Regions from separate parts of the Homo sapiens genome. Here regions 1, 3, 4, 5 and 6 are each linked to region 2. The links are contacts of gene promoters, found by promoter capture Hi-C in human tissues and cell types (Jung and others, 2019). All regions are on one chromosome and are shown on one strand. The core of a region is centred on a gene start or on the middle of the fragment in contact, and the rest is flanking DNA. Distances in the headings are between cores, read along the strand shown. Region 1 overlaps HMGCL (3-hydroxy-3-methylglutaryl-CoA lyase). Region 2 holds the start of IL22RA1 (interleukin 22 receptor subunit alpha 1). Region 3 overlaps NIPAL3 (NIPA like domain containing 3). Region 4 overlaps STPG1 (sperm tail PG-rich repeat containing 1). Region 5 holds the start of RCAN3 (RCAN family member 3). Region 6 holds the start of FUCA1 (alpha-L-fucosidase 1).

Region 1 (3,127 bases), core at 1-2,500, 330 kb after region 2:
AGCAGGACTCTCTGTTATAGAAACCACCAGCTTTGTGTCTCCTAAGTGGGTTCCCCAGGTGAGCCCTAGCCCTCAATGAAAGGCCTTTCTCTAGGGATGAAAAGTTTTGCATTTGCCTTTGAAGCAAGTAGAAGTTGAGAACATAGGTTTCCAAGCCCCTGGCTTTGAGAGGTCTCAGGTGATTCATAGCACTGTGTTGCAGCAAAAGAACATGACCCAGGATTCAGGGCCTTGGGTTCAGTCTTGGCTCTGCTCTGACTTGCTCAGTGACATTGCTAAGGCCTTCCCCTCCTCAGTGTTAGAGATGACCTCTTCTAGCCCTAAAGTCTAAAACCCTCTATGCCTGTCTGTGGTTTCTTTGTTTGTAAAAGAGGAAGACTGACAACTCCTGCTTCACAAAGATAGTTAAGTGAAGAAGAAACATCCTGTTACAAAGGAGTGCTTAACACAGAGCTGAGCTCAGTGCCTGGCCCAGAGTACATTCTCAATAAATGGCTGGTAGTAGTATTCCTGCTGTTTCTGCATATGTAAAGCTGGCAGTATGGGCCATATGGAGAAATTGGGATCTCAGCCAAACCAAGGGCCCTTCTGAGCCATCAGCAGTCAAACAAACAGTAAAAGTATTGGAGAGACTCAGCTCTGCAGAAGGAATTACTCGCTAAGAGTTCTGGAGAACAGAGGTTTTGTGATGAAAAGGTTTTCTCTAACTGAACTCTCTGTCTGCTCTTGGTGATGACTTGGCAATGTCTCCCTTGGTTCCTAGATGGGTGACCACACTGAAGTCTTGAAGGGCATTCAGAAGTTTCCTGGCATCAACTACCCAGTCCTGACCCCAAATTTGAAAGGCTTCGAGGCAGCGGTAAGAGGATAGCTTGTTGGTGGGGGCTCCTGAAATGAGATTGATGGCATTGGTCCCTGCCTTGTCTTGGCGCCTCAGTCCCCTGTCCTGGGATGTCCATCTGAATAGCTTGTCTGTCAGCCAGACCCTGGGGCAAACCTGGCCCTGCCACTCACTGCTCTGTGATCTTGACAAGTTGACAAGCCTATAAAATAGGGCTAAATGATAGTACCTGAAGTTGTGAGCATTTCAGAAGATAGGATGCATGTACATTGCTTAGCAAGAGCCAGATAAAAGGTAACTGCTTAATAAATGTTAGCTCTTTTGATTATCCACTTCTTTAGAGAAATGTAACCAAACTCTCCACAAGAGTTTCAACAGTAGTTGCTGGCATCTGCCAACTTTCTTACAATTTTAGACAAGAACATCTTTGGAGGCGTTGGTTCTGTATTTAGGCAAAAACCTTTTTTTGGCTGGGCACAGTGGCTCACACCTATAATCCCAGCACTTTGGGAGGCTGAGGCCGGAGAACAGCTTGAGGCCAGAAGCTTGAGACCAGCCTGAGCAACATAAGGAGACCTTGTCTCTACAAAAAAAAAAAAAAAAATCAATTAGCTGGCTGTGATGGCATGCACCTGTAGTCCTAGCTACTCGGGAGACTGAGGCACAGGATGGCTTGAGACTAGGAGTTCGAGGCTGCAGTGAGCCATGATAATACCGCTGCACTCTTCCAGCCTGGGTGACACAGCAAGAAAAAAAAAAAAGCTTTTTCTCAAGAGTGACTTCCAGGGTGGTGATGGCAGTGGTGGTGGTTTCCTTGGGGAAAATCAAAGTTTTTTTTTTTTTAATTAAGAGAAATTACTGTGTTTGTTTCCTAGTGCTACTGTAAGAAAGCACTACAGGCCGGGCGCGGTGGCTCACGCCTGTAATCCTAGCACTTTGGGAGACCAGGGCGGGCGGATCATGAGGTCAGGAGATCGAGACCATCCTGGCTAACACGATGAAACCCCGTCTCTACTAAAAATACAAAAAATTAGCCAGGCTTGGTGGCAGGTACCTGTAATCCTAGCTACTCAGGAGGCTGAGGCAGGAGAATCACTTGAACCCGGAAGGCGGAGGTTGCAGTGAGCCAAGATCATGCCACTGCATTCCAGCCTGGGTGACAGAGCAAGACTTTGTCTCAAAAAAAGAAAAAAGAAAAAAAAAAAGAAAGCACTACAAATTGGGTGGCTTAAAAACAACAGAAATTTATTCTCTCACAGTCTGGAGGCCAGAAGTCCCAAATCAAGGTGTCAGCAGGATTGGTTCCTTCTGAGGCCTCTGGGAGAATCTGTCCTATGCCTCTCTGCTGGGGTCTGGTGGTGGCCAGCAGTCCTTGGCATTGCCTGGCTTGTAGATGCATCTCTCCAGTCTTTGCCTCCGTTTTCCCAGGGCCACCTTTTCTGTGTCTCTGTGTCTTCACTTGGCCATCTTTTGTTTTTGTTTTTTTTAGACAGAGTCTTGCTCTGTCGCCCAGGCTGGAGTACAGTGGCATGATCTCGGCTCACTGCAAGCTCCACCTCCCAGGTTCAAGTGATTCTCCCACCTCAGCCTCCCGAGTAGCTGGGACTACAGGCGTGTGCCACCACGACCGGCTAATTTTTTGTATTTTTAGTAGAGATGGGGTTTCACTGTGTTAGCCAGGATGGTCTCGATCTCCTGACCTCATGATCTGCCCGCCTCGGCCTCCCAAAGTGCTGTGATTACAAGCGTGAGCCACTGCGCCCGGCTGGCCATCTTTTTTTAAGGTCACCAGTCGTATGGGATTAGGGGCCCACCCTATTCCAGTATGGCTTCATCTTAACTAATGATATCTGCAATGACGCTGTTTCCAAATAAGGTCACATTCTGAGGTGCTGGGTTTTAATCCTTCAACATATATTTTTAGGAGGACACAATTCAACCCATAACATTCACATAACATAAAATTTACCTTAAGAGAAATTTTTTGCTACTCTGTGTCAGTGTTCTTTAAAGAGAAAAGTGCTGGCCGGGCATGATGGCTGACACCTGTAATCTCAGCACTTTGGGAGGCTGAGGTGGGTGGATCACAAGGTCAGGAGTTCGAAACCAGCCTGACCAACATGGTGAAACGCTGTCTCTACTAAAAATACAAAAATTAGCCGGGCGTGGTGGTGGGCTCCTGTAATCCCAGCTACTCAGGAGGCTGAGGCAGGAGAATCGCTTGAACCCAGGAGGTGGAGGTTGCAGTGAGCCGAGATCATGCCACTGCACTCCAGCCTGGGCAAC
Region 2 (4,637 bases), core at 557-3,056:
CAGGATGCCCTTTTCCTCCATCAAGTTCCTTCTTCCAGTGCTTCTGAGAGGCCCCAAGGAACACTTTCGTGTTCCACAGACCTGTTGGGGCTGCGTCTTGTCCTCTCGGCCAGCCACTTGGGACCAAAGCCTGCTCTTCTCCCTAAGCGTCCCTTGTAACCTGTTTTTCTCGCTGTAGCTTCCCCACACTGCCTTGTCATCAAAGTCATCAAAAACCCTCTATCCATCATGGTTCATTCAGTAGCACAGAAACCTCTCCAGTCTTTCAGACCAAGGGACTTTAATGTAAAGGAGCTCGTCACCCAGAGGATGAAGGAGCTGGGACACTAATCAGGACAGACAGTTCAGAGATTTCCCCAAAGCAGGAAGCTGTGCCATCCCACCAACTGAAAGGAAAGATGAGGGGAGAAGGTGTTGCCAGAGCCAGGAGCTGGCCTCCAAACAGGAACAAGAAAGACATAAGGGGTTGCCTGGCTGATGGACTGTCCAGAGGGAGCCAGAACTGCAGAGGGATATGGCCATTGCTGGGGAAGCCACTCAAACAGAAAACGAGGGGAGAAATGCTCTGATCTCTGCCTCCCCAGTCTTCCCCCAGGGGCTAAACCTATCAGAAAGCAGTTGATAAAGGAGTCTAGAAAATGTAGTTTCCTGCAGTTTCAGGAAATGACTGGCATGGGCCCTACCTTAATTCCTCCAAAGCACAGCTTAGATTTGGCTGTTTTGTCAAACAAACTTTAGCAATCAGGGCTGATAACAATTACAATTCAGGAAAGAAAAACTTAAACACCGATCTCAGCATATCACAGCCCATTACACCCAACCCGTTGGCAGGATCCCTGCTAAAATTTCGCTTGCCTTTGTGTGCTTGGGGCCAGGCAAACTCTCCCCAGGGGCAGGACCCTCCAATCGTGTCCACCCTGACCAGAGTCCAGGCCCCAGGGCCCTTCTACCTTCTCCAGGCCCTGCAGGAAGGAGAAAACCATTTCCTAAACACCTGTCCCTTCATTCACACGAAGCTCATGTGCAGATCCTGCCCTACGTGGCAAAATGATGGGAGAGCAGCCTGAATCTTCATCGTCCCGAACCAAAGCCCCATTCATGAAGTTCAGCCCCATCTCTAGCACAGCAGAAAGAATCACTGAAGTTTGAGTTCCATTTTTTTTCTAAACTTTTGCAGATCCTAGACCCAAAGGCTCAAGGTAAGAGCGGCTGGGCTTCCTCACCCCCAACGGCCTCTCTAGGGGAGAGCTGTTCCCAAGCCCACCCCAAGCGTGGGGACCTGCCTTGATATGGAGGATCAAGGAGGAGCATCGGGTGCCCTCAATCTCCTCCTGCCAGAAAAGCAAAGGAGTCACAGCTTTTCCTTTGCTGCAAGAAACATTCTGGGACCTTTTTTTTCCCCCTCTGTTGTCCAGTTATTTTCATCAGGGTAAATCCCCTAGGAATAGAATTATTAAAGCAAAAGATATGTATGTGGTGTAGGCTTTTGATCCACAGTGCCAAATTGCTTTTTGATAAGGCTGCATATCGTGGATTATTCTTGCCTTTTCTGCCCCTCAGCTCCTTGATAAACCACTTGGGATGAATCAGCCACCGGACCAGATAAACAAGCCAGCCTGTTACTATTGCTGTTTTCTGCAAGTCGGAAGGGAACTCCCTTAGATCCCGCCCAGAACCTGGAATTCCAGAGCACACAGGGCCAGGACACCTTTGTACCCCTGCTCCCCACCGGCACAGGTCCCACCCACCCCCTTCTCCCCGCCCCATGCCCGGGTGGAGCCAGCTGCCAGGGCGCCAAGACTCCCAGCCCTCTCTCTGTGCACGGCAGAGTAGAGGCCAAGGGAGGGCTCTGTGCCAGCCCCGATGAGGACGCTGCTGACCATCTTGACTGTGGGATCCCTGGCTGGTGAGTGCCCATCTACCCTGTGGTCAGACCTCCCTTATCCCAGGGGCCAACGATCAGGGTCATCTCCCCAGCACCCTCCCCAGCCCGAGCATAGCCAGTTTCAGTTTCTCCCCTGCTAGGGCTGAGCAGGGTGCCGGGTGTTCACGGAGAAGCAAATGCCCAGCTTAGTTTGCTGGGGGCATGAGAGGGTGCCTCAGACCCTGGGTTCTTCCAGGGACCCAAAGGACCCTCGGGTCTTGAGGGATATAGCCAGCTGTCTGAACTGGGGGTGCTGGATCGCTGCACCTCAGTGAATGGAGAATTGGCCTGGAGGAGGCAGACATCCTTCGGTCCCTCAAACGGTGTCGGCACAGTTTGTACCATCCTTCCTCTGCCTCTCACTTGGCACTGGCCTGACAGGGGAGGAGGAGGAAGGACCGGGGGAAACGAAGCTTGAGTTCACTATTGCCTCCCTCCATGCCCCTGCAGGGCCTCTTTGGCCCCTTTTGTTATCATAGATCTGAAAGAGCATTTTCTCCTAGAGTGGCCAGGTCTGCTACATTAATAGGTCTTAAGACACAGGACTCATTTGGAAACAGGTCTTAAGGGCATAGTGTTCAAAGCCAATAAAGTGAGCGGAGTGGGGGGCTCATCATTATGGAGAACGTTACATGAGACCCTAGACTCTCTCTCTGCTCTCCTGGTGCATTGCATGAAATTCAGGGAACTTCCTTAGGAAGTCAAAGCATAGTCCTGATTGAGGATGGCGAGCAGGTATGGCCTCGGCCAGGCCCTCCTTGCTCAAGTGCAGGACGAGGCCCACGAAAAGGCAGAGCTTCCCACCTTCTCTGCCACTGTCCCGCCAGGGCTGCCTGCGTCTCCAGGGCTTCCAGCTCTGTGGGACCCCCTCCAGTCTGCTTCCCAGCATCAAGCTGGGCGTTCCAGGAAGATGTGAGGCACCCCCTTGAGGCACCAAGACACGTCCCTTTAGACCCTCAGCCATACTGGTTAGAAATCCTAGAGGCTCCCAGCCCTTTGAGATGGGGGACCCCAAGAAATAGCCCTTAGGAGATTGTCAAGGGTCAGCTGCCTCGCGCTGCACACACCGGGCCCTCACCCCCCCAATCTTAGGCTGACTCCAGAGCATGTGGAATTGTTTCTTGTTTGTGTATTTTTCCTTAGCTTCCCAGCTGGTTGACAGAACATTGTTTTTCCACATGAATGTGAAAAAACAAGTTGCCTTTTATAAATCCGCCAGGCTGCCAGGCTCCACACAACACATGTCTCCCCAGATTTCACAATATAGACTTTCACCCGGGAAGTGCCGAAGCAACACAGGCTGAGGAATGGATGATAGATTTGAGGAGGAAAAGGAGCGAGGAGGGTGGGAGAAGAGGGGGAGATCTTGTTAGACCCTGACATCCCTAAAAGACAGGAGTGGGCCTAGGTTCACTTACCCCACTTCAGGAAGCTAACTGCAGTTCCCTCCTGAAAAGTGGTGCCAACCTCCACGTAGCCCAGGGTCCTTTGCCTTGGCAACATGCCCCCACCTCAGCCACCAGCCTCCTTGCAACCCAGATGGGCCCTCTATTTCCCACCCAGAACACTGACCTCAACCAGCAACCGTTCCCGCTGCAGACTCTACCCCAAGCCTTGATGGAGCCTGGCTTCTCAAAGCCCACCCTCACCCTTCTGCCCTGACCCACCACCCAACCAGAAGCCACTGTTCAGGTCTGACCTTGACTGGACTCCTTTCCTCAACTTTAGACTCAGCCCTGAATCCAGGACCCCTCCCTCCAGAACTGACCCCAATTCCACCCAGCCTCACATCCAAACAAGATGTCAGCTACATCCTAAGGCTCCACGGCACAGCCGTCACCTTGCGTAGAGGCAGTAGACCCCTCCCCGCGCCATCCCTAAGGCCCCATTCTGGGGACTCCAGGAAGCCTGAAGACATTTTGCAGCTGCTGGGCCAGAACCCAAATTCAGAGAGGAGGGCAGCCTTCGAGGTTGGCCAGAGGATGTGCAGCGGGGTCGGACCATTCTTCCGTCCCCATCGGTCCTCGCCAAGCCTGAGGACCCCTCTTGTGTGTAGAGTTGGAGTAGGGGAATCAATAACTGTCTGCTCCCTCACACCTTGGGCCCACTGGCAGTCGTAGACGTGTCTGGGGAAGGAGAGGCACAGACATATTCAAGACACACACCCAGGCCGCAAGGCCTTGACCCAGCTGGGGTTGCTTAACATTTTCCCACCTGTTTATTTCCCACGCCAGCCGGCCAGGGCCTCCGAGCTCCGAGCCAGCTGCCAGCTTGGGCCGCCATTTTCCCGCAGGCTCTTGCTCTCCACAGCCCAAGCCTGGGGGCCTGAGGGAAGGGTTTTATAAGTTAAGGACTCTTTGTTTACAGTGCAGATTGCTTTAGAGGCTGCAGCCCCTCCCCAGCCCCTTCCTTGAGGCTCAGGCCCTCACTGCCCTTCCCTTAACAGAAGCAGAAGTGGGCTGGACAAAGACCTAGCCTGGAAGAGAGGGCTGTGGACTCTTCAATGGCCAGCTTCTCTTCTCCTCTCTCTTCTCCTCCTCCCTAAATTCATCCCTTTATCAGGTGCTCAGGTCCCTGAAGCCCCCCACCCTCATATAAAAGGGTGAACAAGATAGCCCCCTCCCTACAGAGCGAATGTCTTCCCTTCCCAGGTCTCCTCCCTTCAGACTCAACACATGTACATAGGGGCCTGTTAGACACTAAACACATTCAC
Region 3 (4,188 bases), core at 325-2,824, 310 kb before region 2:
CGGGTGGATCACCTGAAGTCAGGAGTTCGAGACCAGCCTGGCCAACATGGTGAAACCCGGTCTCTACTAAAAATACAAAAAAAAAAAAAAAAAAAATTAGCTGGGCGTGGTGGCATCTGCCTATAATCCCAGCTACTCAGGAGGCTGAGGCAGGAGAATTGCTGAGATCACGCCACTGCACTCCATCCTGGGAGACAGAGCGAGGCTCCATCTCAAAAAAATAAATAAATACATAAATAAAGAATATGAGTATATACTCCCTGTGCTCCCAGCCAAGCTTCCAGTGTGAAGCTTCACAGAGTAGAATGAGGAAGGCCTTTGGAGTCAGGGAGACCTGGGCTGGAACTTAGGTCTGCCTCTAAACTAGTCGTGTGGCCTTGGGTAAGTCACTTAACTTCTCTAAACCTTAGTTAACCCTCTGTGGAGTAGGGTTAAGAATTCTTTTTATGGGCCCATAATCATAGCTTACACTAAATGACGTCTCCTTGTACGCCAGGCAGTGTTCTAAGCATTTTATCTACGTTAAACTCACTAAATCAGCACAATAACTCTACGAAGCAGGTACTACCACGATGGCGTGGCACAGAGGAATTTAAACCTGGACAGTCTGGCTCCCAGGCCCATGCACTTTCCTGCTAGGCCACACTGTCTGGTGCTCTATCAGTAGAAACTTACCACTAGACGATGGCAAGTCCGAGTTTGAGAAGCTCCCCCTCCTTGCATCAACAACTGTTCCTTTCTACCCCTTAAAAGCCCAGATATTTGCTAACACTTTCCCAAGAAGTTAAGCCAGCCCTAGCGCCCAGTGCAACTAAAGCAGAAAACTTTGACAACAGCTTAGTCTCATTTGCCTATCCCAAACCCCTTATCAAAGCTGATTTAGTATAAAAAAAACCCAGAAACATTAATGGGCATTTTGAAACATTTAAAACATTCCTTCTAATTAGAGACCATAAAACACAGCTGCTTTCATTTCCCCGTTTCTTCTTTGTCTTTGTTCCAGTGAATCCATATTTTAACGAGTTGTCATTATAGTCAATGCACGATTTTGTACTGGGCTGTTTTTAGTTACCATAAACAATCTTCATGTTTTGTGAAGTTGTCATAATTATCTTTAATTGCTGCAGAATACTTCATCAAGTGGATGTGCTGTCAATCATCAACATTCCCAACCACTGTGCCTGCATTTGAGGGGTCCCAATTCTTCAGCCATTCTCCATGATTTTTTTTTTCTTTTTCTTTTTTTGAGACAGGGTCTCACTGTGTCACTCAGGCTGGAGTGCAGTACTGTGATCATGGCTTACTGCAGCTTTGACCTCCAGGGCTCAAAGCTATCCTCCCACCTTAGCCTCCTTAGTAGCTGGTAATACAGGCATGCATCACCACACCTGGCTAATTTTTACTTTTTTTTTTCCAAATAGAGACGGGGTTTTGCCACATTGCCCACACTGGTCTCAAGTTCCTGGGCTCAAGCAATCCTCCTACCTCGGCCTCCCAAAGTGCTGAGATTATAGGTGTGAGCCACCACATGTGGCCCGTTCTCCATGATTCTAAAATGAACACTGGAATAGCACTGGACATTATATCATGAGATGGCTGTGCATATGTGGTGCCTCCCAACAGTCCGTGAGTACTGTGGGCATGTCTCATTTATTTTTTATAACCATAGTGTCTAGCACACAGCAGACGCTCAATAAATATTGACTGAATTTGGTTTGGCCAAATCTCTCCAGCTGGCAGCACTGCCTCCCAGTCATGATGAAGTAAGACAACAGAATCATTCACTGAGCATCTACCACCTTCTGGGTGACTTAAATGCTACTTCCTGGATCTCCCAATAGCAATTTTAAGTCCAGAGATTCTTGCCACTTTACAGAGAGGGAAACAGAGAAGGAAAGCGACTTGGCTAAGGCCACACAGCACTTAGGAAGTCTTGGGCTTCAATCCTCTGAGTGAAAGGCCTGTTCTGGGGTAACGCTTTGCCCAAGGAGGCGGTCTTTTGCTCTGTCACCAACTACATGCTGGGGCTGGCTGCCTGTTGGGAAATGACACAGCCCCCATTTCAGGGGAAGTGATCCTCTGCCTTGTGGATAATCTGAGGAAAAAGGATGTTCCAGGGCCTCTAGACTCAATCAGAGACCAGGCTGTTTATGTCAGAGGAAAACAGTGAACACCTTTGTCGGCAGGCCACGGGGAAGGAAGATGGCACCTGAGGCCAGGTGGGCCCGGCCTTCAAATCCAACCCTGCTTTTATGAACTCTGAGCAGGTCAGCTAACCTCTCAGAGCCCTGGTTTTCTCACCCATAAAATGGGAAGAACATTTACTTTACAGGGTTAAGAGAATCTGAGATGATACATAAAAATGTGTTTAGCACAGCGCAGGGCATGGAACAAGAACGTACCAGTAGCTTTATCACATACTTTAGATGTTTTCCTTAATCAGTTGATTTATAGACTTAAAATGGGATAGAACTGGGGCAGAGGACTGAGCTCTGGCGGAGGGGTTAGGAGACAAAATTTCCCGTGTCTCCTGGGCTTCTATCAGCAGTGTGATACTGGGAAAAAAAATAAAATAACATTCTTAAATGGTTTACAGTTTTAACTTTTTCTTCCCCTTACCATAAAAGTTTGAAATGGTTACTGTAGAAATTTTGGACAATTCATAAAGATGAAGAGGAAATAAGAACTGAGTCATAACACTATCTCCCAGAGCCAACTACTGATGGAATTTGCTTTCCCATCCAGGCCTTCCTAGGTATATTACATGACCACATACCTATACACACCTCTAAAAAATAAAACTGACATCATAATGGTTTTGATATTACTGTGTGGGGCACAGTGGCAGTTCATTCGTTCTCATTGTGTACAGTGATCCACTGTGTGAATACAACACAATTTATCCATTCTACTGCTGGGGGGCACTTGAGGAGTCTCCAGCCTGGAGTTATAAAAAATAATGTTGCTGTGAACATTCTCATACATGTCATTTGAGAAACACATGTATGCATTTCTGTTGAGTATAAAATGAGGGGTGGAATTCCTCCATAGGATATGTGGATATTCAATTTGGTAATTAGTGTCAAATGTTTTTCCCAAGTGGCTGTACCAATTTACACTCCCACCAGTAGAGTTTTGATATTACATAAATGAAACAAGCATTTCGCCATGAGCTGTGTACTCTCCAGAAGCACGGTCTTTCATGCTGGTAAAATGTGCCGCAACTCACGGAATCCCCTATTGCTGGGTATTCACGTTTCTGGTTTCTAGGACTTGATCTCCCTCCTGCCATCTCAGGGGGAACGACTGGAGGCTTCTCTTACCATGTACAAAAGGAAAGGCCAGCTCACGAGGTGCCTGGTGACATTCTCGCCTGTCATCTTCTCGTGACTGTTGGGTGCGAATGTCACCAGCAGGTAGGTACCCACGACAGCCAAACCGCAGCCAACAAAGGACAAGACGTAGCGCCCTGCGGGGAAGAGAGGCTGTCACGGACTCATTGCAACAACAGGCCCAAGATACAGTACACGTTCTCAGCCATGAAAAAACAGGCTTCTCCTGCAACATACCATGACCTGGTATTGTTTGTATTTTTGGTTTTTCTTTACTTTAAAAAATAAATGATTTTCCTTAATTTTGTTAAAAAAACAATTAATGTAAAAAAATAAAAAACTTTAATGAAGTATAACATGCATACAAAAAGTGCTTGAGGAATTCTCCCAAAGTGAACACACTCATGAAACCAGCTCCCAGATGGAGAAAGAGAACATTAGCCAGATACTGAAATTTCTCATTTGTGAAATTGATTACTAGACCCCACCCTCAGGGTTACACTATCTTGACCTGTAACAGCACTGATGGCTTTGCCTAGCTTTGTGCTTTATACAAATGGACCCATACGGTGTGATCTCTTTTGACTCAGCATGATGTTTCTGAGATTCGTCTGCGTTGTGGGGCACAGTGGCAGTTCATTCGTTCTCACTGTGTACAGTGGTCCACTGTGTGAATACAACACAATTTATCCATTCTACTGCTGGGGGGCTTTTGAGGAGTCTCCAGCCTGGAGTTATAAAAAATAATGTTGCTGTGAACATTCTCGTACATGTCATTTGAGAAACACATGTATGCATTTCTGTTGAGTATAAAATGAGAGGTGGAATTCCTCCATAGGATATGTGGATGTTCAGT
Region 4 (4,343 bases), core at 814-3,313, 260 kb before region 2:
AACGCACTGGCAAACATCCCAGACGTGCCAGTGAAGTACAGAAAGGTACATGTGTCTTTGCAGGGAGGAGATAGCTCCTGACATATGCTTATTTTAGTACATAAGAGCAAATTTGGGGGGAATAGTAAGTCCTGGGTTATATCCACAGGGCCATCCTTACAGGCATACCAAATAGGTGGCTTTAGGCCCTACTGTTTCAAGTGTGACGATTGGGAAGAAACTGAGAAGAAAGGATGAGAGAAGAAGGAGGAAGTCTGTTAAAAAATAAAAAACTAATAAACAAAACCCAGACTTGTTAGTTCCATGTATCTGGTAAGAATCTCTATCCTCAAATTTAGATATGTAAGAGATCTTTTTTTATTTCCTAGAACTCAACTTGAGTTATGACTGCAAGTCCCCATTCTGCTGGGTTGTTGGAAAGGATAACTCCAGCCATTATCAGCATAAATCCTATCTCCCTCGTGATTGTTTCAAGTTCAGAACTTTCCCAATAGTTAGTGTGATCCCAGGAGGCTGGGTTGGGGTGGGGAGGAATACTCAGGTCATTGGTCAACCATCCACATTGGTGAGATCCCCAGTGTCCCAGCTCATGTGCTCCCTTTGGTTTTGCTAGTGTTCGCCAACTAGTGTTCTGGTTCGTTAGTGTGGCTTAGGAATTATTGCTGAGACAGGAAACCTCATTTTGAGATCCCCCTAGGCTCCAGCGCTTTTTCTTTCGAGGCTGTTACCACCTCCCTGGTGGGCTTCCAGAGTCGCTGCTGCTCTCAAATCCAGAGAGATCTCTCTTTCTTCCTCCTATCCTCTGATTTTGCACTCTCTTTTTCTTTAACATTTCTTTAAATTGAAGCATAAATATATATTCAGAAAAAGTGCACAAATCCTAATTGTATAGCTTAATGAATATTCACAAAGAAAACACCACCTATGGAATAACTTCTCAGACCAAGACAGAATGTCAGCAGCATCTCAAAAGCCCTTGTCCCTTCTCAGATATTATCTCCCTTCCCTGCAAAAGTAAACACTACGGTTATCCTGACTTCTCATATCATTAATAACTTTAGTTTGTTTTTGAATGTTATGTAAATGTGAATCATACAATATGAGCTCTTTTCTCTCAGGCTTATGTTTCAGAGATTTAACTTCATGTTGGTTTGTCTTATCTATGAGTAATTTGTTCATTTTATTACTCTTGTTTGAATACACCACAATTTATTTATCTATTCTACTACTGAAGGACATTTAGGTTGTTTCCAGTTTGGGGCTATTATGAATAAAAACTTCTGTAACTATTCTTGTACTTGTCTTGTGGGACACATATTTATGTATTTCATGGGTCTATACCTGAGGAGTGGAACTGCTGGGTCATAGGGTATGTTTAGGGTAAGCTTAGTTGATATTGCCAAACAGTTTTCCAAAGTAGCTGTGCCAATTTTACCTCCTTACAAGCAATGTATGTGAATTCCAGCTGCTCCAAATCCTCACCAACATTTTAAGCTCATAATAGTTTTAATTTGCATTGCCTGAGATCAATGAGATTGAGCACTTTTTCATGTTGACTGGCCTTTTGGATATTCTCTTTGGAGAAGTGACTGTTCAACTTTTTTGCCCATTTTCTTCTGCTGGGTCTTGTCTTGTCTTTTCTTTTTTTTATTTATAGGAGTTCTTTAAACCATTCTGTCCTTTTCTTATTTATAGGGATTCTTTATTCTAGAAACAAGTCATTTGTTAGCTGTAGGTAAATGTCATCCCTTATCCTGGGACTTTCCTTTTCACTCTCTTAACAATGTGCTAAGACACAGAAACTCTTGATTTTAATATAGCCCAATTTATCAGTCTCTTTATGTTTAGTGTACATGTCTATTTTATTAATACTTAAGAAATCTTTGCCCATCCCAAGATAGTTTCTTCTAGAAACTCTATTATTTTACCTTTTACATCTAGATCTACAATTCACTTGAAATTGTTTTTGATTGAGGAAGATGCCCGAGTCTGTTGTTTTCCATGTTGACCCAGCACCATTTATTGAAAGGCTGCTCATTCTCTACTACTCTGTATTGCTGTTGCTACCTTTGTCATAAATCAAGTGTCCAGGCATATGCAGCTCTGCTTCTTGATTATTTATTCTGTTCAAATATCATACTGTCCTAATTACTGTAACTTTATAATAACTCTTTAGTAGCATAAGCCCTTCAACTTTGTACTTCTTTGTTTATGCTGGCTATTCTTGACCCCAGTGCATTTCCATATAAATTTATTTTACTTTTTTATTTTTAATTTTTATGGATACATAATAGTTGTACATATTTATGGTGCACACATGATATTTTGATACAAGAATATAATGTGCGATGATCAAATCTGGGTAGCTATACAAATTTTACAATCAGCTTATTAATGTCTTAAAAAAACTCTACTCTCATTTTAATTTGGATTGCATTGATTCTAGAAATCAATTTAAGGATAATTTACATCTTTACAATAAATATTAACTTCTCTAATCCATGTATAGATCCTTTTATTTAAGTTACCTTAAATTGTTCTCAATGTTTTGGAGTTTTCTATGTAGAAGTCTTGCATATCTTCATTATATCTATTGTAGGCATTTGATTTTTATGCTGTTATAAATGGTAATTTTAAATTTTATTTTAAATTGTTTGTTGCTGCTGTACAAAAAAATTAATTGATTTTTGTATATTGACCTTGATTCTGGTGACCTCACTAAATCCAACTATTACCTCTTATAGGGTGTCCACAGATTATTTTGCAATTTCCCCATACACAATCTTGTAATCTGTGAAAATGACAACTTTATTTCTTCCTTTCTCATCCATATATTTTATGTATTTTTAATATATTTTATGTAGGCGTTTGTATTGGCTAGAGACCTTCAGTACAACGTTGAATAGAAGGATAATAGCAGTTGTACTAGTTTCACTCCCTGTCTCAAGGGAAAGCCTTTAATATTTCACAATTTGGTATCCTGTTTGCTATAGGCTTTTGTTATAGACACCTTTTATCAGATTAACAAAGTTTGCTCCTATTCCTAGTTTGCTAGAGTTTTTCTTTTAATCATCAAAGGATATTAGATCTTATGAAAAGCTTTTTCTGTATCTACTAAACAGTTACTTCACCAAAAAAAAGATATACAGAGGGAAAATAGCATATGAAGGACTGCTTAGCATCATTAGTCATTAGGGAAATGCAAATTAAAACCATAATGAGATACCATTACATACCTAATGGGATGCCTGAGATTAAAAAGACTTCCCATTGCTGATAAGAATGTGAAGTCATAGAAATTTTCATACGCTAATAGTGGGGATGTGCAAAAGTACAACGACTATGAAAAATAGTTTGACAGTTTTTTAAAAAGTTAAACATATGATCTAGTCATTCCACTCCTAGGCATTTACCCCGCAAAATGAAAGCTTATGTCCATTTAAAGACTTGTAGATAAAATGCTCATAGCAGTTTTATTTGTAATGCCCCCAAACTGGCGACAACTCAAATTTACATCACCAGTGAATAAACATCATGTTTTTATACAATGGAATATTACTCAACAATAAAAAGCAATGGAGTATTGATATATCAGCAACAGAGATGAATCTCATAGTAATTATGCTGAGTGAAAGAAGCCAGACAAAAAGAGTACATGTTACAGGTATATGATTTTTTTAATCTGTTGAGATACTCGTATGGTTTTTCTTTTTTAGTCCGTTAATATGATGAATTATATTGATTTTTAAATATTAAACTATTTTTGCATTACTGGGGTTGGTCACGATGTATTATCTTTTTATATATTGTCTGGTTTGATTCGCTAAAATTTTTCTAAGGATTTATGTATTTATGTTTATGAGGGCTGCTGACCTCTAGTGATCTTTTTCCCTCTTGTAATGATGCCATATAGTTTTGGTATCAGGTAGTGGTTGCCTCATTGAATGAGTTTGGAAATGTCTTTTCCTCTTCAGTTTTCTGGGACAGCTTGTATGGAATTGATAGGTGGAGTGTTCTATAAATGCCAATTAGGTCAGGTTAGGTAATAGTTTTGTTCAGGTTTCATATATCTTTACTGATCTATCTACTTGTTTAAATTATCGAGGGAGATGTTTTGAGATCTCTGACTATAATTGTGAAATTTTCTATTTTTTCTCGCAGTTTTATCAGTTTCTGCTTCTTATATTTTCAATCTCTTTTTATTGGGTACATCAGCATTTAGGACTGTTATGTTCTCTTGAGGAGCTGACTGCTCATAATGACCCCATTATGAAATGACCCTCTTTATTGCAGGTAATATTTTTTGCTCTGAAATCTACTTTATCTGATAATATCTAACTATC
Region 5 (4,737 bases), core at 900-3,399, 360 kb before region 2:
AACCTAGAATTGGTCCTGTTATAATTGAAGTTCCACTCCACCAGGAATTTGTCAGCAAGAGACAGATAGAAATAAACAACAAAAACCAGCCTACAAAACATATGAAAACAACAGGTTTTAAAGAATAACTGAAGTTGAGATATATAAGACTGATGCTATTTGTTGTGCTGTGTATAATTTCTTTTCCCTGGATAGAACCTCTACATTCTAGGGGAAAAGTGGAGATTGCTGTCCGACCTCCACCTTCTGTGTTTTTTTTCTAAGTAACAAACGGTGTTGAACTTTAGAGCTTCCATTATTTCACAGGCTTCAGGCTAATGGATTTCCGCGTCACACTATTTTTCATGCTTTAAGTCCTTCAACCAACAACTCTAACACCATATAAAATCTGCTCTTGTCTGTTACCTAATGTTCACATGTTTGAAACCTTTACAAACGTTATATTTCAACAGCAGGAAAAATCTTGTTTCCTAGAAAAGCACTGAAATCTGTTTTCAGGCTAAGAGAGAAAAGGTTTGGCTGGGTGCGGTGGCTCATGCCTGTAATCTCAGCACTTTGGGAGGCAGAGGTGGGCGGATGGCTTGAGCCCAGGAGTTCAAGAACAGCCTGGGCAACATAGTGACACCCAATCTCTACAAAAAATTAGCCGGCATCTGTAGTCCCAGCTACTCAGGACGCTGAGAGGTGGGAGGATCGCTTGATCCTGGGAAGTTGAGGCTGCAGTGAGCTGTGTTTGCACCACTGCACTTCAGCTGGATGACAGAGCGAGGCCTTGTCTCAAAAAGAAGAAAAGAGAAGAGAAGAGAAAAGAAAAGGCAAGGCTTGCCAATGCAGTAAAATGTAAAGCTGATGACCTGGCTAAAGAAGAGACTCAGTTTTCAAGCTTTTCACAGTCTTCCTGGATGGAAAGCCCATTTCTAGATCAATTTAAATCCCCACCAAAAAGAACACATTTGTGTGATGCATATCTGGCTCCTGAATTATGTGTTTACAGAGTTTAAGATATTGAACCAAAGCCAATGAAATAGTCTTAAAACAAATTACTTTACATCGTATGTAATCACAGCTACAGATAAATCAATTGCTTCTTTTGCCAAATAGTACATCAGAGACTTCTATGAAAAGTTCAAATAAATGTGGTGTACTTGGTGGCTTCCAACAAGTGGAAGCGAATATTTTTGGCTTTCAGCACTACAGGAAAACATCACTTTAAATAATCCTTGTTTGTATCTGAAACACGGATCTGGATTGCTTCCTACACTAGAATCCTAATCTCTAAAGGAGATGATCAGATTTTGCACGGAAGCTAGAAGAATCAACCTGGAACAGATCACTCCTGCCCTACCTGTCCAGGCGGCGGACAGAAGCAGACAGACAAGTTTCAAGAAGTTAGGGAGTCACTAATGCGATGGTGATCCACGCACCGTGGGGGAAGCGGGGCAAGGGAGAAAGACAGGGGGCTTCCACCTTCCAGGCGCCCCTACACCGCTCCTGCCTTCACAGGCAGGCTGGGCCTGTCGGCTTTTCAAAAGGTCAAACACACTTGGTGGGAGAAAATCGTTGGTGGAGAAGACAAAACATTTTTGTTTTGTTTTCCGGGACACCACCCTCGAGGCTGCCAGACTAGACCCCGCGCGCGAGAAGGGTGCGGCGGGAGGCGAGGTCGCGGGAGGCGAGGTCGCGCGCGGTAGCATCTCCCGGTCCCGCGGCTCGGAGTGCCCACCCCTCCCGGACTTCTCGGGGCGGCTTTTTTTTTTTTTTTTTTTTTTTTAACTTTTCATGCACCACCCCCCCCACCCGCCCCGCCCCGCCCCGCCCCGCGCTGGGTGCAAACCTGCTGGAGAGGCCGGGCGCCGTGGGGCCTCACCTGCACGCCCCGCCGCCGCAGGACGGGAGCCGGGAGGGCAGCGGACGGGCCCGGGCTGCCCGACGGGGCTGCGGGGAGCCGGACGGCGCGAGCTGCGGGGCCTCTGGGAGCCTGGTGGGCGGCGGGCGGGGCCGAAGGCAGAGCCGGGAGCCGCCTGCAGCAGCAGCCTCGCCGCCACGCCCTCGACGCCGGCGAGAGCGGCCCCCTGGGCTGGGACTAGGGCGGTGTCCCGGCTGAGCTAGGCTGCCGGCGCCGCGCGCCCGCCTCGTCCCCTCCTGTTCTGGCAGGGCGCGCGCACGGCGGCGCAGGCGCCAGAGCCCAGGACAAGGCGGGGACCCGGGCGGGGACCGGGGCGGGGGCGCGCGGGGGCCGGGGTGGGGGTGTCTCGCCGCGCGCGCCCTCCTCCCGCTCCTCCGGGTTCCTGGTCCCCAGCCTGTGGGGGGCTTGGGCTGTAGCGCTGGGGCGGGGGCTTTAGATCACCCCGAAAACAGGACCTCTGGCGACCTTCTCGTTTTCCACCGGGAGCGGAGAGAGCCGATCTCCTTTTCCTGCTAGCCCCGTAGGACAGTCCCCGGAGCAGCTCATAGGAATATGACGAACGTTTACTCAGGGCTGGTTACTATGTACACTGCGCCCCGCGCGCGGCGAGTTTACCTCGGTTCACCTCCCGGCAACCGGCGGCCCGGATATTATCAGATGCTGTGGGCTTCCCGGCGCCTCATTGCCCGAGGAGAGGCGGCCGCAGGTAGCTGAGCTGGAGCTAGCACAAGGTGTGGGACGGCACAGGCTGGGTCCCGCCCTGGCGGGTACAACCCTCTTCCCCTTACCCACTCCTTCCCCTCCCCTCCCATCCCCTCCCCTCCTCTCCTCCCCACTCGTGCTCTTCTCCCTCCTCCCGCTCTCCCTCCTCCTCTTACTCCTCTTCACCCTATGCCCTATCTACCGTTGTCATACAATCCACATGTTTAATGCTTTCTTTTTCGTGTAAAAACCCTTCCACGCAGTCTTGCTTGTCTCCGACGCCTTAGGAGACCATGGGACATGATTACAACTATTACGCAAAGGGAAGAGCCGGGGTCTAAGCTGTTGAGCGAGTTTCAGTGATAGGACCGAGGCTTACATTGGCAGGTATTATTACCACCAATAACAACTATGATGACAAAGCTCCTGAGCCCAACTTGGAAGGCAGCTGGTGTCTCTTCCCTTAGCCGGCAGAGAAGGAAGCAGGGTCACACAGCAGGGAAAATAACTGGGCTCATCTCCCACCTACAAGGACGCGCAGTCACGCAGTGGTGCGCACCCGTAGTCCCAGCTAACTCAGGAGGCAGAGGTGGGAGGATCGGTTGAGGCCAGGAGTCTGAGACCAGCCTGGACAGCATAGCAAGACTCCGTCTCAAAAAAAAAAAAAAAAAGGAATGTGCAGTTAGAAGAAAATCAGCTCTCATTACCCACTCAAGACCTTTCAGAGGCAAAGTGAGGCACAGTGAAGCTTAACATCAAAGGCACTCAGCGCCTGCATCATGGGGCAGGAAGATGGACTAAAATGTGTACAGCACATCTAATCCCTGTTAGATGTAAACTAAGAAATCAGGGTTGGATTATGACCCCAAGGGCTCCCCAGCAGTTGAGCCCAGCATAGTCACCGAGGTATGTCCAGCAGATCGCCCCTCCTACTTCCTGCTTGCTGCTTCTGTGGTTCCTGCTGCCTCCAACCGTGCTGCTCCTGCTCCCCATCTTGTCTTAAACTAAGTTCTTCACTTTCATTCGTTTAACTAATATTGATGGCAAGCTGCTTCTTTTGTCAAGGTCACTCTAAGGACTATAGTAATTATTTTTTCTCTAAATTCCTCTAACACAGCAACTTTTGCAAAAATTGAGGGTTGTTTTTTTTTTTTTTTTTGGTGTTTTTTTGTTTGTTTTGAGATGGGTCTGCTCTGTTGCCTAGGTTGGAGTGCAGTGGCACAATCATAGCCTCAACCATCCAGGCTCAAGTGATCCTCCCATCTCAGCCTCCTGAGTAGTTGGGACTACAGGCACATGCCACCATGCCTGGCTAATTTTTCTACTTTTTGTAGAGACAAGGTTTCACAATGTTGCCCAGGCTGGTCTCAAACTCCTGAACTCAAGCAATCCTCCTGCCTTGGCTTCCCAGAGTGCTGGGATTATAGGCGTGAGCCATTGCACCTGGCCAAAAAATTGAGTTTTCACATCAAATGAGATTGGAAACAGCTGCATTCCATAGCCCTGCCTGGAGATGTCTGATGCACGTTCACACAAAAAAAATGGCCCTGAGAGATCCTAAGTCAAACAACCAGATTAGCTTAATTTAGTTTCCCTGAGGTATTAGGCCCTGTGTGGGTGTTGGGCTTGCAAGGGTAAGGTCCATAGAGATCTGCCACCTGAGGAGCTCACAGATGGGGGAGACAGTGATTGTGATACAGTTGTATTTGTGCACTGAGACATTTGCAAAGTGCTGACAAAGCAGAGGAAGAAGTGAGCAATCCTACATGATGGTTCAGGGAACGGGGTTCGCATTTTCCAGTATTATTCAAGATTCTCTTTTTTTCATGGAATACATCAATCAGACTGGGTTAAGCAGCAAATGGAATGCATTGACTCACATAATAGAAAAGTTTGGGGCTTCAGGCATGGCCGGATTCAGGGGCTTAAACTACGACATTAGGATTAAGTTTTTTCTCTCCATTTTTTTTTTTTTTTTTTGAGACGGAGTCTCGCTCTGTCGCCCAGGCTGGAGTGCAGTGGCGCGATCTCGGCTCACTGCAAGCTCCACCTCCCAGGTTCATGCTATTCTCCTGCTTCAGGCTCCCGAGTAGCTGGGACTACAGGCGCCCGCCACCACGCCCGGCTAA
Region 6 (4,869 bases), core at 1,838-4,337, 270 kb after region 2:
AAGTTGAAGCATGCCTTTCTTTATTCATCGGTGGAATCCTTTCTCATTTTGGCAAAGAAAATGCCCAAGTGCCTGGCACAAACAAGCACTGAGTAAATACTTCTTGAATGAATAAAACTAGATTCTAAAAATCATTTGATCAAACGCAACTCCACACTTTCTACTTCTCTTCTTTTAGAACCACACTGTATTTCTGCTTTTTTTTTTTTTTTTTTTTTTTTTGACATAGAATCTCACTCTGTCACCCAGGTTGGAGTGCAGTGGCATGCAATCTTGGCTCACTGCAACCTCTGCCTCCTGGGTTCAAGCAGTTCTCCTGCCTTAGCCTCCCATGTAGCTGGGATTACAGGTACCCGCCACCATGCCCAGCTAATTTTTGTATTGTTAGTAGAGATGGAATTTCACCATATTGGCCAGGCTGGTCTTGAACTCCTGACTTCAAGTGATCCACCCACCTTAGCCTCCCAAAGTGCTAGGATTACAGGTGTGAGCCACCACTCCCAGCCCCTATGTCTGCTTTAAGTGGAGAAGCAGAGCTTATGAGGGAGGAGAACAAGGGTGCAAAAGGGACCTAGATATCACTGAGAACTGCCCTTGTTGTTTGGTTGAGGAAATGGGCCCAGACAGTGGACAAGACTTGCTCAGGGAGACAAACGAGATGGTGTCCAGTGCAACAAACCTAGGTTTCCTAACTTCCAGTTCTGTCCACTCTACATCAGTGCCTCTCACCTGTCCCTGCAGGTTCACATTTTGGTTATGTGGATAAGGAGAAATAAATTGAAGATCACAATGTCCCATTTTATCTTCCCCAAGACAAGCTCTGTAACATTAAAGACCACTATGCAAACCGATTACTAGAAAATGTGTGTGGATGGGTTCGGTTTTTTTCCTAAGGTGTTCATGCTTACTGTTTTGGGCAATATTTCAACATAATCTGGCAGAAAAAGAAACAGAAGATAAAGAAAATAGCTGTAGGCCGGGTGCAGTGGCTCATGCCTGTAATCCCAGCACTTTGGAAGGCTGAGGCTGGCGGATCACTTGAGGTCAGGAGTTCGAGACCAGCCTGGCCAACACGGCGAAACCCCATCTGTATTAAAAATACAAAAATTAGCCAGGCGTGGTGGCGTACCTGTAAACCCAGCTACTCGGGAGGCTGAGGCAGGAGAATGGCTTGAACCCAGGAGGTGGAGGTTGCAGTGAGCTGAGATTGCAGCACTGCATTCCAGCCTGGGCGACAGAGCAAGACTGCATCTCAAAAGAAAAGAAAAGAAAAAAGAAAAGAAAAGAAAAGAAAACAGCTGTGATTCAGCAATAGTCATTTTCTCTCCTTGTCACTGCCAGAGTGAGGAAGTGCTGGGTTCTGTCAACATAGGCTCTGACTTCTCATGAGGTGCAAGAAAGAAGCAGCATGAACAAAGGCATAGATTTTGCACCTGGAGACACGTATTCTAGTCCCACCTCTGACTCAAACTAGCTGCATGATCTTGGGCAGCCCCCCAGCCCTCTCTGGGCTTCAGTTCCCTCCTCGGTACAATGGGAAGGGTAGGGAAGAGGATGGTGCCTAGGATCTTCAAAGTCCCAACTCTGATGTGCTGCCATTCTCTCACTGGCATGTGGGAACTGAGTGTGCTACGTGGAGTCATGAGACTTCTTCTTCCTTTTCTTTTTCTTTTTTTTTTTTTTTTTTTTTGAGACCGAGTCTCACTCTGTCGCCCAGGCTGGAGTGCAGTGGTGCGATCTCGGCTCACTGTAACCTCCACCTCCCGAGTTCAAGCAATTCTCCTGCCTCAGCCTCCTGAGTAGCTGGGATTACAGGCGCACCCCATGCCCGGCTAATTTTTGTATTTTTAGTAGAGATGGGGTTTCACCATGTTGGCCAGGCTGGTCTCAAACTCCCGACCTCAGGTGATCTGCCCACCTCGGCCTCCCAAAGTGCTGGGATTACAGGCGTGAGCCACCTTGTCTGTTCAGAGACTTCTGACTTCCGTATTTCCCTCGCTAATGGCCTCACCTCCCGTTTGAGTATGTGCAGCATGTGCAAATTGCAGAGGAACTGGGGAACTTCCCTGCCAGGCAATCCTGGGTCCTCTTGGCTCTCCACTTCCTCCTTCCTTCCTTCCTTCCTCCTTCCTTCCTTCCTTCCTTCCTTTCTTTCTTCCTTGGTCTGGCTCTGTCGCCCAGGGGCTGGAGTGCAGTGGCGGTATCTCGGTACAAACTAAGCTATTTGAAATGCCTCGGAATTCCCAAAGAAAGCTCAGTAAATACCAGACAGATGAAACGGTCCTGCCCGCTCTCCCTCTTTCAGTACCCAGTTTTCTCTTTCCTCTCCTTTCATAACGTTTCTTCCCATCATCCCTCTACCTCCTTATTTCTGTCAGGGCTGTTAGATACCCTTCCGGTCTGTTATCTCCTCCTCCAGCCTTGTGCTACAGGACAACTCAAAAGCCCCCTATGGCTCCCAAGTGATCACTAAATAAAACTCGTGATCTCACTTCAGCCTACCCCTGCAGGATTGCTGCGGCAAAATGGACTACTCCCAGAGGCGTGATCACGGTTCGGTTCACTGCAGCCCAGACTTCCCGGGCTCAAGCGATCCCGAACCTCCCACCTCAGCCTCTCGAGTAGCTGGGACTCCAGACGTGCACCACTACGCCAGGCTCATTTTGTTTATTTTTTATAGAGACAGGCTAGTCTCCAACTTGTGGGCTCAGAGCGATCCTCCCGCCTCGACTTCCGAAAGTGTTAGGATTACAGGCGTGAGCCACTGCGTCCGGCTCAATGGACTCCTTCTTAAATGTGAGTTCTCCGCACACACTGGGCCTTGCTCACCTCCACGATTTAACCTCGCAGTTAAGTCCCTTTTCAAGGTTTTTATTCGTCCTTCAGCGAAGCGCTGTCAACGCCTCCCTGCGTCTTTCCCTTCTTGAGCACCAGAGGGCGCTCCTCCGACCCGAGGAGGAAGCGACTCGGGCCAACCTGTCCAGGTTGTCCCACCCCTTTTTCCTTCCGGGCCAATCGTTAGTCAGAGTGGGCGGAGCCGCCCGCGGGCACCTGCGCGTTAAGAGTGGGCCGCGTCGCTGAGGGGTAGCGATGCGGGCTCCGGGGATGAGGTCGCGGCCGGCGGGTCCCGCGCTGTTGCTGCTGCTGCTCTTCCTCGGAGCGGCCGAGTCGGTGCGTCGGGCCCAGCCTCCGCGCCGCTACACCCCAGACTGGCCGAGCCTGGATTCTCGGCCGCTGCCGGCCTGGTTCGACGAAGCCAAGTTCGGGGTGTTCATCCACTGGGGCGTGTTCTCGGTGCCCGCCTGGGGCAGCGAGTGGTTCTGGTGGCACTGGCAGGGCGAGGGGCGGCCGCAGTACCAGCGCTTCATGCGCGACAACTACCCGCCCGGCTTCAGCTACGCCGACTTCGGACCGCAGTTCACTGCGCGCTTCTTCCACCCGGAGGAGTGGGCCGACCTCTTCCAGGCCGCGGGCGCCAAGTGAGTGTGGTCCCGGGGAGCGGCGCCCCTTCCCGGCTCGGGCGGCAAACAGGAGGTGGGGCTGGGCGGCCAGCTGGGGCGCGCAGCTGCCGGTCGCCCCCATGACCCCGGGGCCCGCGTGTGGCCTCCTGCGGCCACAGGAGTGAGCCTGGCACACCTGATGAGGAGGAGGAGGTGCGTTTGACTGGGGACTGATAAATGAAGGTTCAGGGAGATGGCAGGCTGGGAAGCCCTGGGTATCTGCACCTGTGCACCGAGAGGGCTGAGTTAGGCCATACCTGATGTCCCTTTCAGATTGACAGCACTATCAGGACTCCAGGGTTTCAAATCAGTGGTGTGGAGCCTGGTTCTAATTCAACTGTGAACCTGGACATGTCACTTCAGCCTCCCTGCAGCCTCTTCTATGGTTGTAGAAAGGGGTTATATAAGGATACAACCCTTTGAGCCCTAATGTCTCTAAGAGGGAAAGAGAGGGGAGTTCTGGTGTGCAGTGTATTTGGGCAACAGTACAGATAGTCATTCGTTTGCTCCTCTCAATCCCTTTTACGTAGGAAGTGTCCAGGAAGGGTCTGACTCTCTCTGAGAACTGTTGGAACTTGGGGGTGGCTGGTTCAGAGAACAGAGTAGAGAGCGCTGGGGTGGGGATAAGGGGAGACCACGACCCATGAAGTTGTCAAGGCAGGGGCTTGTCCTGAAGGAGTGAGCCTTGAGAGCCCTGTATTGACAGATGTTAAGTCAGGGAGTGGTTACTATCAGCTTCTAGAAAGATTCATTCGGCTGCTGGGAGAGAAGTGGGTTGGAGAAGAGTAAAAATGGAGGCGGGGAGGTTTCCCCAGCCCCTGGCTTAGAGCAGTCTTCCATCCTTACCTTGGTTCCTCAGCCATCTTCCGGGTTTTCGTTTCTCTTGAACTTTGAATTCACTTGTACTAAAGAGAAGTTACAACTGGCATTTAGTGTTTGCCATTAAATGTATGGGAGTATAAGACTTGATTAAGCAGAGGAAGTGTTTGTCTCCTAGGGGCCTTAGGGATCCATAACTTACAAGTGAGAAAAATTAAAATCTGGGAGATAACCTCTTTCCATGCCTTTTATTTCATGGATGAGATGACTGGCCCAAAGAGAGGAAGGAATATAATGTCCTAGACTCCAGGTCTCATGACGTCAAGGTTGTTTCCACTGCACCAGGGTCTGCAAACTGGCCAGAGGGATTGGTCCTCTGCCAGTTTTTTAAGGCCCATGAGGTGAGAATGGTTTTTACATTTTTAAAGGGTTGTAAAATGTTTTAAAGAAGAATACACTACAGAGAGGAATGTGCTCCCACAGAGCCTAAAATACTATCTGGCCCTTCAAATCCTGGAGTTCCCTACTCTGGCCAATGATTGAACCATAA

Evidence for each region. The method cuts DNA at HindIII sites, captures the fragments that hold promoters and counts their contacts. A contact is called where the count stands out against the background at its distance.
Region 1: a fragment that was not itself captured here is called in contact with the fragment with the promoter of IL22RA1 in region 2 in 1 of the 25 tissues and cell types used here (mesenchymal stem cells).
Region 3: a contact is called between a fragment that was not itself captured here and the fragment with the promoter of IL22RA1 in region 2, in 1 of the 25 tissues and cell types used here (adrenal gland).
Region 4: a fragment that was not itself captured here is called in contact with the fragment with the promoter of IL22RA1 in region 2 in 7 of the 25 tissues and cell types used here (IMR-90 fibroblasts, bladder, heart right ventricle and 4 more).
Region 5: the fragment with the promoter of RCAN3 here is called in contact with the fragment with the promoter of IL22RA1 in region 2 in 2 of the 25 tissues and cell types used here (IMR-90 fibroblasts and heart left ventricle).
Region 6: a contact is called between the fragment with the promoter of FUCA1 here and the fragment with the promoter of IL22RA1 in region 2, in 2 of the 25 tissues and cell types used here (IMR-90 fibroblasts and pancreas).

Annotation. Positions count from the first base shown.
Region 1 is chr1:23,814,407-23,817,533 of GRCh38, reverse strand. It overlaps HMGCL (3-hydroxy-3-methylglutaryl-CoA lyase), which reads left to right. Exons shown (of 9, transcript NM_000191.3): 3 at 1-58; 4 at 764-859. Among named protein-coding and RNA genes, the nearest start is that of HMGCL, 9.5 kb to the left of the region's middle. The HindIII fragment of the contact is 3,794 bases long and covers 1-3,127 here.
Region 2 is chr1:24,140,309-24,144,945 of GRCh38, reverse strand. IL22RA1 (interleukin 22 receptor subunit alpha 1) reads left to right here and starts at 1,806. Exons shown (of 7, transcript NM_021258.4): 1 at 1,806-1,906. The coding sequence starts at 1,864. The HindIII fragment of the contact is 7,521 bases long and covers 1-4,416 here.
Region 3 is chr1:24,448,762-24,452,949 of GRCh38, reverse strand. NIPAL3 (NIPA like domain containing 3) reads right to left here. Exons shown (of 12, transcript NM_020448.5): 6 at 3,324-3,469. Among named protein-coding and RNA genes, the nearest start is that of NIPAL3, 35 kb to the right of the region's middle. The HindIII fragment of the contact is 3,091 bases long and covers 29-3,119 here.
Region 4 is chr1:24,397,021-24,401,363 of GRCh38, reverse strand. STPG1 (sperm tail PG-rich repeat containing 1) reads left to right here. Exons shown (of 9, transcript NM_001199013.2): 2 at 1-45. Among named protein-coding and RNA genes, the nearest start is that of STPG1, 15 kb to the left of the region's middle. The HindIII fragment of the contact is 6,357 bases long and covers 1-4,343 here.
Region 5 is chr1:24,500,248-24,504,984 of GRCh38, reverse strand. RCAN3 (RCAN family member 3) reads right to left here and starts at 2,149. Exons shown (of 5, transcript NM_013441.4): 1 at 1,835-2,149. It overlaps RCAN3AS (RCAN3 antisense RNA), which reads left to right and starts at 2,603. Exons shown (of 2, transcript NR_144360.1): 1 at 2,603-2,637. RefSeq lists silencers at 100-300, 1,807-2,306, 2,588-2,760 and an enhancer at 3,364-3,463. The HindIII fragment of the contact is 6,582 bases long and covers 1-4,379 here.
Region 6 is chr1:23,866,508-23,871,376 of GRCh38, reverse strand. FUCA1 (alpha-L-fucosidase 1) reads left to right here and starts at 3,087. Exons shown (of 8, transcript NM_000147.5): 1 at 3,087-3,479. The coding sequence starts at 3,091. It overlaps CNR2 (cannabinoid receptor 2), which reads left to right. Exons shown (of 2, transcript NM_001841.3): 2 at 1-862. RefSeq lists a silencer at 3,456-3,675. The HindIII fragment of the contact is 22,530 bases long and covers 1-4,869 here.